Linked DNA regions of Homo sapiens: region 2 is linked to region 1. The links are contacts of gene promoters, found by promoter capture Hi-C in blood cells and fetal thymus (Javierre and others, 2016). All regions are on one chromosome and are shown on one strand. Each heading gives the region's core, a stretch centred on a gene start or on the middle of the fragment in contact. The rest is flanking DNA. Distances are from core to core; before and after follow the strand shown.

Region 1 (6,584 bases), core at 1,639-4,138:
TTACCTCTCAACATGTGTAGGATGAGTAATTGCAGGAGTGAGTGGAAGAAGCCACTGTGGCCACTGGCCATGCCGAGAGATCGGAACACTGCGCTTCCCAGCTCTGGGCCTCGCATTGCTGATCTGTAAAACAAAAGGGCTTAAACCAAACAATTTCCATGGTTCTCCCAGCTCCAGAAGAGCTTTCACCTTTTTTTGGCCTCAGTTTTCCCATCTGTCTTCCAAGGGAATGATCTAGATGATCCCTCAGGCCCTTTGACTGCACAGGCCAATGTCAACAGTACCCTCTGTGTGTTCCAGGCCATGGGCCCAGAAGTTCACCTACTATGGAGTCCCCATTGTGCCCAGGAGACAGGCTCTTCATTAGGCGCCTTCCACTGTCAGGGAGCTGGGGCTTGGAGAGGGGAGGTGCTGATTTTTTTTTTGAGATGGAATTTTGCTCCTGTTGCCCAGGCTGGAGCACAGTGGCGCGATCTCGGCTCACTGAAACCTCCTCCCAGGTTCAAGCGATTCTCCTGCCTCAGCCTCCCGAGTAGCTGGGATTACAAGTGCATGCCACCATGCCCAGGTAATTTTTGTATTTTTAGTAGAGATGGGGTTTTGCCATGTTGGCCAGGCTGGTCTCAAATTCCTGACCTCAGGTGATCCACCTACCTCGGCCTCCCAAAGTGCTGGGCTTACAGACGTGAGCCACCACGCCCGGCCAAGGTGCTGAATTTGAGGCCACATGGCAGTAGGGGCATAGCTGGGGCTGGAACCCTGTCTCCAACACAAAACTGTTCTGCCTCTGGGATGAAGCCTCTACTCAGTGGGCTGTGCTTTTCCTGGGTAAGACCCCTCCACTCTGAGGGTTTTGCTGGGTGCAGGGGCAGGGTCCTCCCAGACATCCTGAGCCCAGTAGTGGCCCTACCCTGCTCGGTTCCTCAGAAAGTGGTTCAGCCACACACACTGTGGGCAGCACTGGGTATGCCCTGGTGCCCAGACTGGGCTCCTCCCAGCCGCCTAGGATGAGGGAGACTGGCGCCTCTTTGCTGGCCTTTCTTGCTGGACACTCCTTGGAGCAGAGGTCCAAGGACGGAGAACCCCGTCATCTCCAAACCCTCCCTACCCATGTGTGCACCTGCACGGATTGCTGTGGCTAAAGACACTTCAGGGACACTCGGCCTCATTTTTTAAATTATTATTTCTTATTTAATTTAATTTATATATATTTTTTGAGATGGAGTTTCACTCTTGTTGCCCAGGCTGGAGTGCAATGGCGTGATTTCGGCTCACTGCAACCTCCGCCTCCCAGGTTCCAGCTATTCTCCTGCCTCAACCTCCCCAGTAGCTGGGATTACAGGCGCCTGCCACCATGCCCAGCTAATTTTTTTTATTATTATTATTTTTAGTAGAGACAGGGTTTCACCATGTTAGCCAGGCTGGTCTCGAACTCCTGACCTCAGGTGATCCACCCACCTCAGCCTTCCACAGTGCTGGGATTACAGGCGTGAGCCACTGTGCCCGGCCTACTCGGCCTCATTTTGAAGTCGATTCCTTTCCAGCGCGGGAGGGGGTGGGGGCGGACACAAACAACACACGCTGTGAGGATTAATGTATTATAATGTATTGCTAGGCTTTCCTTAAAAATAGTGTTCCCGGCTGGGTGCGGTGGCTCACGCCTGTAATCCCAGCACTGTGGGAGGCCGAGGCAGGTGGATCACCTGAGGTCAGACGCTGGAAACCAGACTGGCCAACATGGTGAAACCCCTCCTCTACTAAAAATACAAAAATTACCCGGGCATGGTGATGCACACCTGTAATCCCAGCTACTCGAGAGGCTGAGGCAGGAGAAGCGCTTGAAGTCAGGAGGCGGAGGTTGCAGCGAGCCGAGATCACGACACTGCACTCCAGCCTGGGCGACAGAGCCAGACTCTTGTCTCAAAAAAATAAAAATAAATAATAATAATAAATAATAAATAAAAATAATGGTCCGCAGGCTTTCAGGGATGTGTGCGGGCCGGTTTTCCATATGGGAACAGGGAAAGGATGTGCTGAAGGCTTCCTCCGGTAGGCGACTTTGGCTGATGTGACTTTATGCCTCGTAGTGAGGGCAGGGCGACAGAGGGACGGGCCGGTGAGCGGCTGTCCTGGAGAAAGAGCAGTGGCATCCGGGGGGCTTAGGGTCTCAGGTCTGCTCACTCCGCACATCTTTTCTGTGCTTTCATTGAAAAACAAAACTGAAACAAGAGCGGACACCTAAGTCTGCCTCTCTCTTTCCTGTCACCCGTCTCAGGCTGGCTGTCCTCTGTGTGTGCGCCAGGAATTCTGCAACGAAGCGCCTGCCTCTCCGCTTGGTTTTCCTTGGGGAAGGGCCTGGGGCCTCCTGGGGGGTGGGCACCGGGTGTGTGGGTGTGTGTGGGGGACCTGGCAGGGAGCAGCGGGGGAGAGGCGGGGTGGGGGGTCGCGTACACCCCAGGAGCCTGAGGATGCGCTGCCTGCTGGGAGAGACAGCCTTGGGGCGGGTGGTGTGCACAGAGCTCTGTCGGCCAGCGCGGGCGGGCGGGGCCGTTGTTGGGGGCGCTGAGGCGAGTGAGGCTGGAGCTGGGAGTGGGGGGCTCGTCGCCTTCGTCTCTGGGCCGCCCCCTCCACCTGCGGAGGCGATTGTAAAGGGAAGGGGGGAATCCCTCTGCCATCACCTCCCAGATACTTGGGGGATGGAAAACGACAAAACACGGAACCTCCCACTCCCTAAAAAGTGGGTGGGGAGGGTGAAGGGAGGACACCCCTTCCCCGCCCCCAGCGCCAGCAGCCGGGGTGGGGGCGGGCGAGGCGCGCGGGGAGGAGAGGGCGGAGGAGAGGACGGGGGGCGAGGTTTGCTTCAAGAAGGGGCGTGTGGCCGGCGCAGCGCGTGCACCAGCGGCTCCGGAGCGAGCGGCCGTGGCTGAGAAGGGGAGGGCGGAAAGTTTGTTTCCCCGACGTCAGCGCCGGGCGGGCCGCGAGGCTAGGAGGCGGCGGGAGCTGGGCAGAGCGCGGGGCGGCCGGGGCTCTCGCTCCGACCCGCGCCCGCGACCCTTCCTGGGACCCGAGCCCGAGACCCCCGCCGGCCCCCCCGGGGCCGCTCGCGGGCATGGACAGCGCGGCCGCCGCCTTCGCCCTGGACAAGCCGGCGCTGGGCCCGGGGCCGCCGCCGCCTCCACCCGCGCTGGGGCCCGGCGACTGCGCCCAGGCGCGCAAGAACTTCTCGGTGAGCCACCTCCTGGACCTGGAAGAGGTGGCGGCGGCCGGGCGGCTGGCGGCGCGCCCCGGGGCCAGGGCCGAGGCGCGGGAGGGCGCAGCACGGGAGCCGTCCGGGGGCAGCAGCGGCAGCGAGGCGGCGCCGCAGGATGGTGAGTACGGCCGGCCAGGGACGGGGGTGGCGGGGCCGGGGCCGGGGCCGGGGCCGGGGCGCGGGGTCCGGGGAGCCGGCGCGGGGCGGGCGAAGATGCAGGGCGCGTGGTCGGCGGCAGGACTTCTGGGGGCGCGTGTAAGTGACGGTGGACGGCGGTTGACCAGCACTCTGGGCTGGGGGAGGGGGACCCTCTTCGGGTCTTGGGGTGCGTCCCCACGGGGAAGTGCGCTGCCTTCGCTCCCCAGTATTCGGCTCCCGAACAGCCTGGGAAGTGGGTGTGGCTGCTGCCGGGTTACAACTGGGGAAACAGAGACCTGAGTCGGGCAAAGCCGCTGAGCTGCACGTTGGGGTTTCAAACCCGCCCCCTCCCGCACGAGCTAGCGCCGCCCCAGCTCCTCCTCGGTCTTAAGTTGGGCTCTTTGGGGGGCGAGGGTGCCTGCCCACCCCCCCCCACCCTCCAGTTTGCCCCGGGAGCAGCTGCCTCGGTGGAACGGCCCAGCCAGGCCTCTCTTCCCCGGCAGAGGTCAAAGGTCATCAGGAAGGGGCTTTAAAAACAAACAACCCACCCAAGTGGCCTTTTTCAAAAAGTGACACAGGATGGCAGGGTCCTGAGCCCTTGGTAAGAAGGGGAGGGACGGGGAGAAGATGGAGAAAAAGCAAAGGCCCCAGCCCCGGACGGTTCAGTGGGGGAGGGGAGGACCGGAGTCCTCGCGGCTCAGCACACACTAAGGATGGGGGCCCGGTGATCTGAAACCAGGCCCCTGTCCCCTAGCTCTGGGGATGGGCCGGCCTGCTGGGGGCTCTGGGCCCCTGAAGTGTGCCCGCCTGACTCCAGCAGCCCTCCCACCCGCCCCGGGGGACCCTGTTCCCGGCACCAGCCTCCAGGTCTCAGGGTGCCCAGGCTGGTGGCTGCGTTCCTTGGCTTTTCAGAGACAGGAGGTGCAGGGAAAACAGAGGTGGCTGCAGCCTAGTCTGAATCCATGTGCGTCCACGAGGACGCCTGCGACACGCCTGCCTTTCACGGGGCACCTTCTGCCAGCCTGTGGCTGAGATGAAGCCACTGGCTCCCTCATGGCAGCGGCCACCACTCACTGGCCACAGTGGACTGGCCACTGGCTGCACCCTCCGGGGTGAGTGTGAAGCCAGCAGACCTCCCAGGAGTTGGGGTTTAGCTCCTCAGTAGAAAAGGGGAGGGAGATGTCCACTCTGGCCCGGAGGAAAGCAGGTGCCCTCTGGTTTGTGCTGGGGGAATGCCCTGCCGGCCCAAGGTCATTTGAGGACCTCAGCGGCTCTGAGCCGGTCCCCCAACCCCAGGACAGAGGAGAGGTCCCGGTTTACCCTGATGAAGGGAGACTCCAGGGGTTGGGAAGAGAAGGAGGAACAACTTGAAGGTGAAGGGAAAGAAGGAAAGGAGAAGGCAAGGAAAGGAGAGAGAGAGGGAGGAGAGACAGAGGAAGAGGAAGGAAGGGAGAGGAGAGAGGGGTGAGGAGGGAAGGAAGGGGGCCAGGGTGTCTCGTACTCCAGTCCTGGCCAGGGGACGGCCTGCCCATTTCTGACCTACCCCTGCTGTGGGGACAGCCAGGGAAGGCCGTGCTTCTCCCGGACACGGTGTTGGAGGTCTCTGGTGGCGGGTTTCCCCGGGGATCCCAGAACAGCTAGTGTCAGCTGGGGATGTGGGCGCCTAGACAAGGCCCTTGGCAGCCTCCAGGCAGCTGGGTGTGCAGTGGGTCTCCCCAGCAGCTCCCTGGGGCTAGCCACCCTCCTGGAGAGCCCATGAGGCCTCCAGGCCTTCTCCTAAGAAGGGGCATTGGCACACTGGGAGTACCCAGGCATGCTTGGGACACACTGGGTGTGGGATCAGGTGGGGTGGGGTCTGGGCCAGGCTCCAGGAGGCGCTCGTGGGCTGGTCCGTCTTGGAAGCTGCCTAGCTCTGCCCTGAGGACGATGGAGCCCTGGCAGGGAGAGTCCCTGGGCTCCGCCCGGGGTGTGGCCCGGATCTGGGTCTACAGGCAGAAGGTGGAGAGAGGGGACTGCAGGGCAGGCGCCAGTTTCCAACTCATCCATCTGGGTCAGGCGGCCCCACCACTGCCACTTGCTGTGGACTCCCAAGTCCTGAAGGCTCCAAAGGTGGGGGAGATGGGATCCTTCTTTCCCCATCATCGACCCTTTGAAAGTGGGCAGCCAAACCTTGCTGGGCTTGCCGGGACTGCAGACCCCAGGCCAGTGGGCTGAGTCTTGGGTTGCGGCATCATCCTCCAGTCCTGGACATACAGGAGCCCGGTCCCCTCACCACGGATCCAGACATGCTTGGAGGTGGGTTTTCCTGTGGCTCTTGGAGTTGTTTTCAGGTCCAAAGAAAGATGGTCTGGCCGGGGGCGGTGGCTCACACCTGTAACCCCAGTGCTTTGGGAGGCTGAGGTGGTTGGATCACTAGAGGTCAGGAGTTTGAGACAAGTCTGGCTAACATGGTGAAACCCCATCTCTACTAAAAATACAAAATTAGCCGGGTGTGGTGGTGCATGCCTGTAATCTCAGCTACTGGAGAAGCTGAGACAGGAGAATCCCTTGAACCCGGGAGGCGGAGGTTGCAGTGAGCCAAGATTGCACCACTGCACACTCCAGCCTGGGCAACAGAATGAGACTCCATCTCAAAAAAAAAAAAAAAAAAAAGAAAGAAAGAAAAGAAAAGAAAGAGATGGCACCAAAGAGGGAGTGCCCCCATTAGAAAAATAAGGGTTAGCCAGGTGCAGTGGCTCACACCTGTAATCCCAGCACTTTGGGAGGCTGAGGCAGTTGGATCACAAGGTCAGGAGTTCAAGACCAGCCTGGCCAAGATAGTGAAACTGCATCTCTACTAAAACTACACAAATTAGTCAGGTGTGGTGACAGACGCCTATAATCCCAGCTACTCGGGAGGCTGAGGCAGGAGAAAAAAAAAAGAAAGAAAGAAAGAAAAATAAGGGTTAATGGGGGACACCAATGAGTTAGGAATTAATACGTCTTCAATCTGCTGGGATAGCAGGCTCAAACTTTTTTTAATTTAAAAATTTTTGTTTGCACAAAGCCACCAGTAGATAAAGCCCGCTACTGCCAATGACTTTCTAAGACCAGGCTCCCTCCAGAAATGGCCGGGAAGACCGTGGCTTCGCCAGTGACTCAGAACAAACCAGGGTCGCGGGTTCCTTCCTCGCCAGTCAAACGCTGAGGGCTGCAC
Region 2 (6,584 bases), core at 2,017-4,516, 500 kb before region 1:
TCCAAGTGATCCTCCCACCTCAGCCTCCTGAGCAGCTGGGACTACAGGCATGCGCCACCACACCCAGCTAGGCTTTTATTTTTGGTAGAGACAGGGTCTCCTTATGTTGCCCAGGCTGGTCTCAAACTCCTGGGATCAAGTGATCCTCCCGCCTTTGCCTCCCAAAGTGCTGGGATGACAGGCATGAGCCGCTGCGCCCGGCCTGTGTTTTGTTCTGAGTGGAGTGGGGGCAGTGGTGTGCTCACACTGGCTTGCGAGAGCTGACTGTGCACATTCCTCTCCCTCTCCATGTTCAGCGATGTCACATGGTAGCTAGGAATTGGCCAAAATGGGAGTGTTTACACCACAGGAATTGGCAAATTCTTCAAGTGAGCTCCACCCACCAGCTGGTTTTAAACATTTACACTACTGGGAAGGTTTGAGATGGGGAGAGCTATGATTCGACTTCAACATGTTCGCATGTACGGGAGTGGAGAGGAGGAGAACGGCCAGTAGGAGGGCAAGCGCGAACACAGGAAGACCAGGGAGATCTGCAGGGAGGTTAGTGCACTAGTCCAGGAGGGAGGTGGTGTGGCTGGGCTGGGAGAGCAACAGCAATGGTACTAAGGTAGATTGTGAAGCTCTTCTTTTTTTTTTTTTTTTTTTGAGACGGAGTGTCTGTCACCAGGCTGGAGTGCAATGGCGCGATCTCGGCTCACTGCAGCCTCTGCCTCCTGGATTCAAGTGATTCTCCTGCCTCAGCCTCCCGAGGAGCTGAGATTACAGACATGCGCAACCACGCCTGGCTAATTTTTGTATTTATTAGTAGTGATGGGGGTTTCACCATGTTGGCCAGGCTGGTCATGAACTCCTGACCTCAGGTGATCCTCCTGTCTTGGCCTCCCGAAGTGCTGGAATTACAGGCGTGAGCCGCCGTGTCTGGCCTGATTGTGAATCTCTTCTGAAGGAGGATTTGCTGATGGACTGGATTTGGCTTTGTGAACAAAAAAGGAGTCACGATGCCCTGGTTTTTGGCCTGAACAACTTGCTGGATGGTGGGACGGGGCAATGGCGGGGAGAAGCAGAGGTTGTAGGTGTCTCTCCGGGGTTTGAAAGGCCCAGACAGACGAGTTCTTAGATGTCAGTATCCCAAGAGTAGAGGCCAAACATGGTGGGACCCTTGACTTGCATTCGGCACGGAGGTCCTGGCTGGAGAGAATTGTCAGTGGGTTGAAGGGACCAGGAGAAGGTGGCAGGAAGGGAGAAGGGGCCAAGGCCTGAGCCCTGGGACTCGCCGGCATTTAGAGGAAGGGAGACTGGGAACTATGAGCCGGAAGAGAGGAACTACATTGCGTCTCTCCTCCAGCTGGTATCTACATTTTTTATTTTTTCACACCAAGCACGAGAGGTGTGTGTACAAGACGCACAGTGGCGGCCTGTGGCTGTGCAGCGCCCTCTCCTCTGGCAACAGAACCTTCTTCCCAATGGAGAAGCCACGAGAAAGGGTTGAGGTGGGGCCGGTCAGCCCCCTACTCAGGGGTGGACACATGCCCAGACCTGGCCAATCACAGGGGCCCTGCTTTCCTGTGCACTGTGATTGGTTCTGGGATGAGCTTGTGACCTGGCTGTGCCAATGAGGATCATCCCCAATGCCCTCTGTTAGATCAGGTGGGAAGATGCCCTGTGCCAGGGCTGCTAAGCTGGGAAGATGCCATCCTGGGGATGCCAGTGGCAAGGCCAGGTACAGGATCTGTGGGGTGCGATACAACATGAAAATGCAGGGCCCCTTGCTCAAAAAGCAGGAAAAAGTGCCACGAAGGGTCCATAGAACGCTTCCTTCCACCATCTCTCAACTTGTCATGGCATTTTAAATTTTCTATTCAATGTCATTCTAAGTACAGAAAGGTGTACTTAGAAAGGTGTAATTATTGTAAATAATTAGCATGAATTTTACCATTCATCTTTATATTGCGTAATACCAGTTTTATTTATATTTATTTATTTATTTATTTTAAGATGGAGCCTCTCTCCCTGTCACTCAGGCTGGGGTGCAGTGGCCAATCTCGGCTCGCTGCAACCTCTGCCTCCCAAGTTCAAGCAATTCTCGTGCCTCAGCCTCCTGAGTAGCTGGGATTACAAGTGTGTGCCACCACACCTGGCTAATTTTTGTATTTTGAGTAGAGACAGGGTTTCACCACGTTGGCCAGGCTGGTATTGAACTTCTGACCTCAAGTGATCTGCCCACCTCCCAAAGTGCTGGGATTACAGGCATGAGCCACTCTGCCTGGCTGTGTAATACCAGTTATAAATATAAATACCAGAGCATTTAATTCATGTGCAGAATCGCTGAAATTGCACAATTCATATTCTGTGGCTTGTCCCTGAGTGTGCCTTGAACTGGCCAGAAAAGACAAACACAAGCCAGGCTCAGGAAGGTTATAGGGGGAGGAGAAGACCCCCTGGTTAAGGTGGTTAAGATAGTGCTTCTCCGTATGGGAGATTGCCACAAGGGTGCACACCCTCCCAGCCCCCTCCACCCCTGCTATGCCTCCCTGCGTGCTCTCTCTAGATGGGGCCTGGCAGCTGCTGGATTAACCTTCCAACCAACCACTGGGCTGATGTCCTGAGTCCTGGTACCTCCCCTTCCCACAGGCCCCCACCTCAACCTACAGCAGAGGAGTGGTCTCTAAGGACCTCAGTACCCAGATCGGGGTAGGTGAAAGGTTCACCCCACGTCTAGACACGGTCTCTGGTTGGCTGCCAGTCAGGCTGTGGTGCTGCTAATGCACAGCAGTGGCGGCTGTCACCGTGCCCTGCAAGGTGCTGCTCACGGATGCCTGAACTCAACCCTCTCTACGCCTGTGCCCAGGTCCCTGCCGAGGATGGGAGGGAGAGGCCAGGCAGAGCCAGGGCACCAGAGTGCCAGGGGGCAGGGTAGCAGGGGGACCAAGAACCTGTCTCAGGGAGGTGGGGAGGTGGCAGGAGACAGGACTGCACCTGAGTCGAAGCTTCAAACACGCTCCACTGTCTCAGACTTCACTCAACACAAACTCAACGATAAAATGATGTTGAATTTCAAGACAGCAGAGCATTAGACTCCAAGCATGGGCTCATTTGAACATGGGGCCCTGTGTGACTGCACGATCCCTGGCCAGTGGCCTTCTTGTTCTGGCCGCAGAGAAAACCTAAGAAGAGGCCAAGGAGAGGTAACGAATAAGCCCTGATGACATCATGTGAGCCTCTGGATCCAGCTACGCCTGAGCCGAAACACCCATGGACTTCCCTGTTTCTGTGCCAGGAAATAAATCCGCTCTTTGCTTCAGCCAGCTTTAGCTGAGTTTCTGAGGCCTGAACAATATGGGACCCTGAGAGGAGAGGATCCAAGGCCCAGGAATCTCGACACCCGAATCCCTTTCTTGGCTTAAAGAATCTTGGAGCTGTCCATCAACTTGGAATGTCTGCAGGTTGCCTAGAGGTCTCACTGCCCCTCCCCACATGGATCTGTCCTGTTCTGGGGCCACGTCCTTTATCTGTCTTAGGCCTGGATTTCTTTTTATGAACAAAGGGAAGCTTTATTCCCCAGTCTTCCCAGTTCTCCCCAGGCTGTTTGATGTGGGTGTTAAAGGAGACACTGGACTTCCACACTGGGGGTGTGTGTGTGTGTGTGTGTGTGTGTGTACTGGATTTCCACTCTGTGGTGTGTGTGTGTGTGTGTGTATGTGTGTGTGTGTGTGTAGTGGCCTGGAGGGTGCCAGGGAGCTGGGAGGACAGCAGGAAGGATGCATGGAATGTTTAAGAAACATCAGGAAGGCCGGGCACGGTGGCTCACACCTGTAATCCCAGCACTTTGGGAGGCCAAGATGGGCGGATTGCCTGAGGTCAGGAGTTCAAGACCAGCCTGGCCAACATGGCGAAACCCTGTCTCTACTAAAAATACAAAAATGAGCTGGGTGTGGTGGCGCAAGCCTGTAATCCCAGCTACTTGGGAGGCTGAGGCAGGAGAATCACTTGAATCTGGGAGGCGGATGTTGTGGTGAGCCAAGATTGTGCCATTGCACTCCAGCCTGGGCAATAGAGTGAGACTCTGTCTCCAAAAAAAGAAAAAGAAACATCAGGAAATAACTGGATTTGGGGGGCAGAAGGGGGAGGAGTCAGAGGCCCAGAGGTAGTGGGGAAGGGTCTGATTGGAGGAGGATAGGCAGAGCAATATCTTACTGTTTCCTCTTTAAGCCACTCCCTAGAATGGAGTCCATTCATTCATTCATTCATTCATCCATCACTTCATTCATTCATTCAATCATCAAGCATCTATCCTGAGTGAATGTTGACTGTCAGGCACAGCCAGGTCCTGAAGATAATCAGACACCTTCCTGGGGACTAATCTTTTAAAAAATATGAGTCCTAATCTATGGAAAGACAAAAAAATCCAACAAAGTTTCTAAGGCACTTCCTCCTGTCTCTTCCCCCAACTCCAGAGTAAAAAGATCTTGATTGGGTCCCGCTGGAAAAGATGCATGTTACTTTTTTTTCTTTTGAGACAGGGTTTTGCTCTGTCTCCCAGGCTGGAGTGCAGAGGCACAATCACAGCTCACTGTAGCCTAGATCTACCAGGCTCAAGTGATCCTCCAACCTCAACCTCCCTAGTAGCTGGGACTATAGGTGTGCACCAACATGCCTGGCTAATTTTTTTTTTTTTTGAGATGGAGTCTTGCACTGTCGCCTGGGTTGGAGTGCAGTGGCATGATCTCAGCTCACTGCAACCTCTGCCTCCCATGTTCAAGCGATTCTCCTGCATCAGCCTCCCAAGTAGCTGGGATTACGGGTGCCTGCCACCATGCCCATCTCATTTTTTGTATTTTTAGTAGACACGGGGTTTCGCTATATTGGCCAGTCTGGTCTCAAACCCCTGACCTTGTGATCCGCCCGCCTCGGCCTCCCAAAGTGTAATTTTTGTATTTTTTGTTGAGACGGAGTTTCACTATGTTGCGCAAGCTGGTCTTAGACTTCTGGACTCAAGGGATCCTCCAGCCTCGGCCTCCCAAAGTGCTGGGATTACAGGTGTGAGCCACTACGCCTGGCCTGTTAAGTCATAATTTTGTTCAACAGGAGAGTCAGTAGGAAAACTGTCATGCATTTTGCAATGAAAAGTTATCTGGGCAGAGCTGACCAGTGCCAATATTGCAGCTCTCATTTACTGGGCACTCACTGTATGTCAGACTCTGAGCTGTAGCAGCCTTACTGCACAGGCAGGTGCCCCCATGCATGTCTTCATTTTGCAGACAAGGGACTGGAGGCTCAGGGAGGTGAAGGAAAGAGCTTATTGTCACCTAGAAAGCAGCAGAGCTGGCCAGGCGTGGTGGCTTACCCCTGTAATCCCAGCAGTTTGGGACGCCGAGGCGGGTGGATCACCTGAGGTCGGGAGTTTGAGACCAGCCTGACCAACATGCAGAAACCCCGTCTCTACTAAAAATACAAAATTAGCCGGGTGTGGTGGCGCATGCCTGTAATCCCAGCTACTCGGGACTCAGGAGGCTCAGGCAGTAGAATTGCTTGAACCTGGGAGGCGGAGGTTTCGGTGAGCTGAGATCCTGGGCAACAAGAGCAAAACTGTGTCTCAAAAAAAAAAAAAAGAAAAAAAAAAGCAGCAGAGCATGGTTTGTCTTGAGCTCTATGTGGCTTTGGAGGCTGAGCTTGGAACTGCCAGCCTGGGCTTTGGACGGGCACCCTGGGTAGGGGTGGTCCTGGGTAGAGATGGCCCTGGGAATCCCTCCGGTGCTTGGCCTTGTGCCTGGTGGTCCACAGTCTCACAGTCACTCATCTGATATTTAACAACTTACAATGAGGAGTGCTCCACAAGGAACCCTCACATAGCTTGGGATGCTCTCCCATGTTCCGTCTTTGCTGAGGGTCCCTTGGATGGGTGTGTTTGTGGGGCATAGTCTCTGGGGGAAGAGGGGCAGATCCTGGATTGGTCTGGAGCCCCAGCTGGCCCCGCACAACTAGGAAAACTGGTTGGGGCGGCTGACTCAGGGTGTGTTTATACTGGCGTACTCCCCGCCCCCTCCCTCCCTCAGGCACCCTCCCCTCCCGTCCCTGACCCGGGAGAGGAAGGAAGTTCCTATAACGTTCATAGTTGCCACTAGTTCTGCGTGTTGTGCATTGGGCACGGAGCAGGAAGACCTTCACAGGTTGTAACTGGTCCCAGCTTCCTTTGAGGAGACTGAGTCTCAGAAAAGTCAGGCTGCTCCCTCGATCCTACAGGGGCAAAGCTGGGATTGGAATCCAGCTCTGACTGATGCCCCGGATGGAACTCTCATCCACTGTGATTAGAATACAATCTGAGCACCTCCTGCTTTTCTTTCTGGCCCCATCTCCTGCCTCTCCCACTTGCCCTCTCTCTCAGCCAGTTCTATGAACATGCTAAATTTATTCATTTTCTTTTTTTTCTCTCTCTCTCCTTTCTTTTCTTCTTCTTTTTTTTTTTTTTTTTTTTTTGCCGGAGTTTCGTTCTTCTTGCCCTGGCTAGAGTGCAATGGTGTGATCTTGGCTCACTGCAACCTCCGCCTCCCGGGTTCAAGCGATTCTCCTCTGTCAGTCCCCCAAGT

What was found. Contacts are between HindIII fragments. The CHiCAGO score rates a contact against its expected background, and 5 or more counts as called.
Region 2: a fragment that was not itself captured here is called in contact with the fragment with the promoter of PRRX2 in region 1 in 6 of 17 cell types (naive CD8 T cells, activated CD4 T cells, total CD8 T cells and 3 more); the score reaches 12.0 in naive CD8 T cells.

The regions. Positions count from the first base shown.
Region 1 is chr9:129,662,759-129,669,342 of GRCh38, forward strand. PRRX2 (paired related homeobox 2) reads left to right here and starts at 2,889. Exons shown (of 4, transcript NM_016307.4): 1 at 2,889-3,368. The coding sequence starts at 3,110. RefSeq lists an enhancer at 6,400-6,584. The HindIII fragment of the contact is 25,989 bases long and covers 1-6,584 here.
Region 2 is chr9:129,161,150-129,167,733 of GRCh38, forward strand. No RefSeq gene overlaps it. Among named protein-coding and RNA genes, the nearest start is that of IER5L, 14 kb to the right of the region's middle. RefSeq lists an enhancer at 6,148-6,584. The HindIII fragment of the contact is 562 bases long and covers 2,986-3,547 here.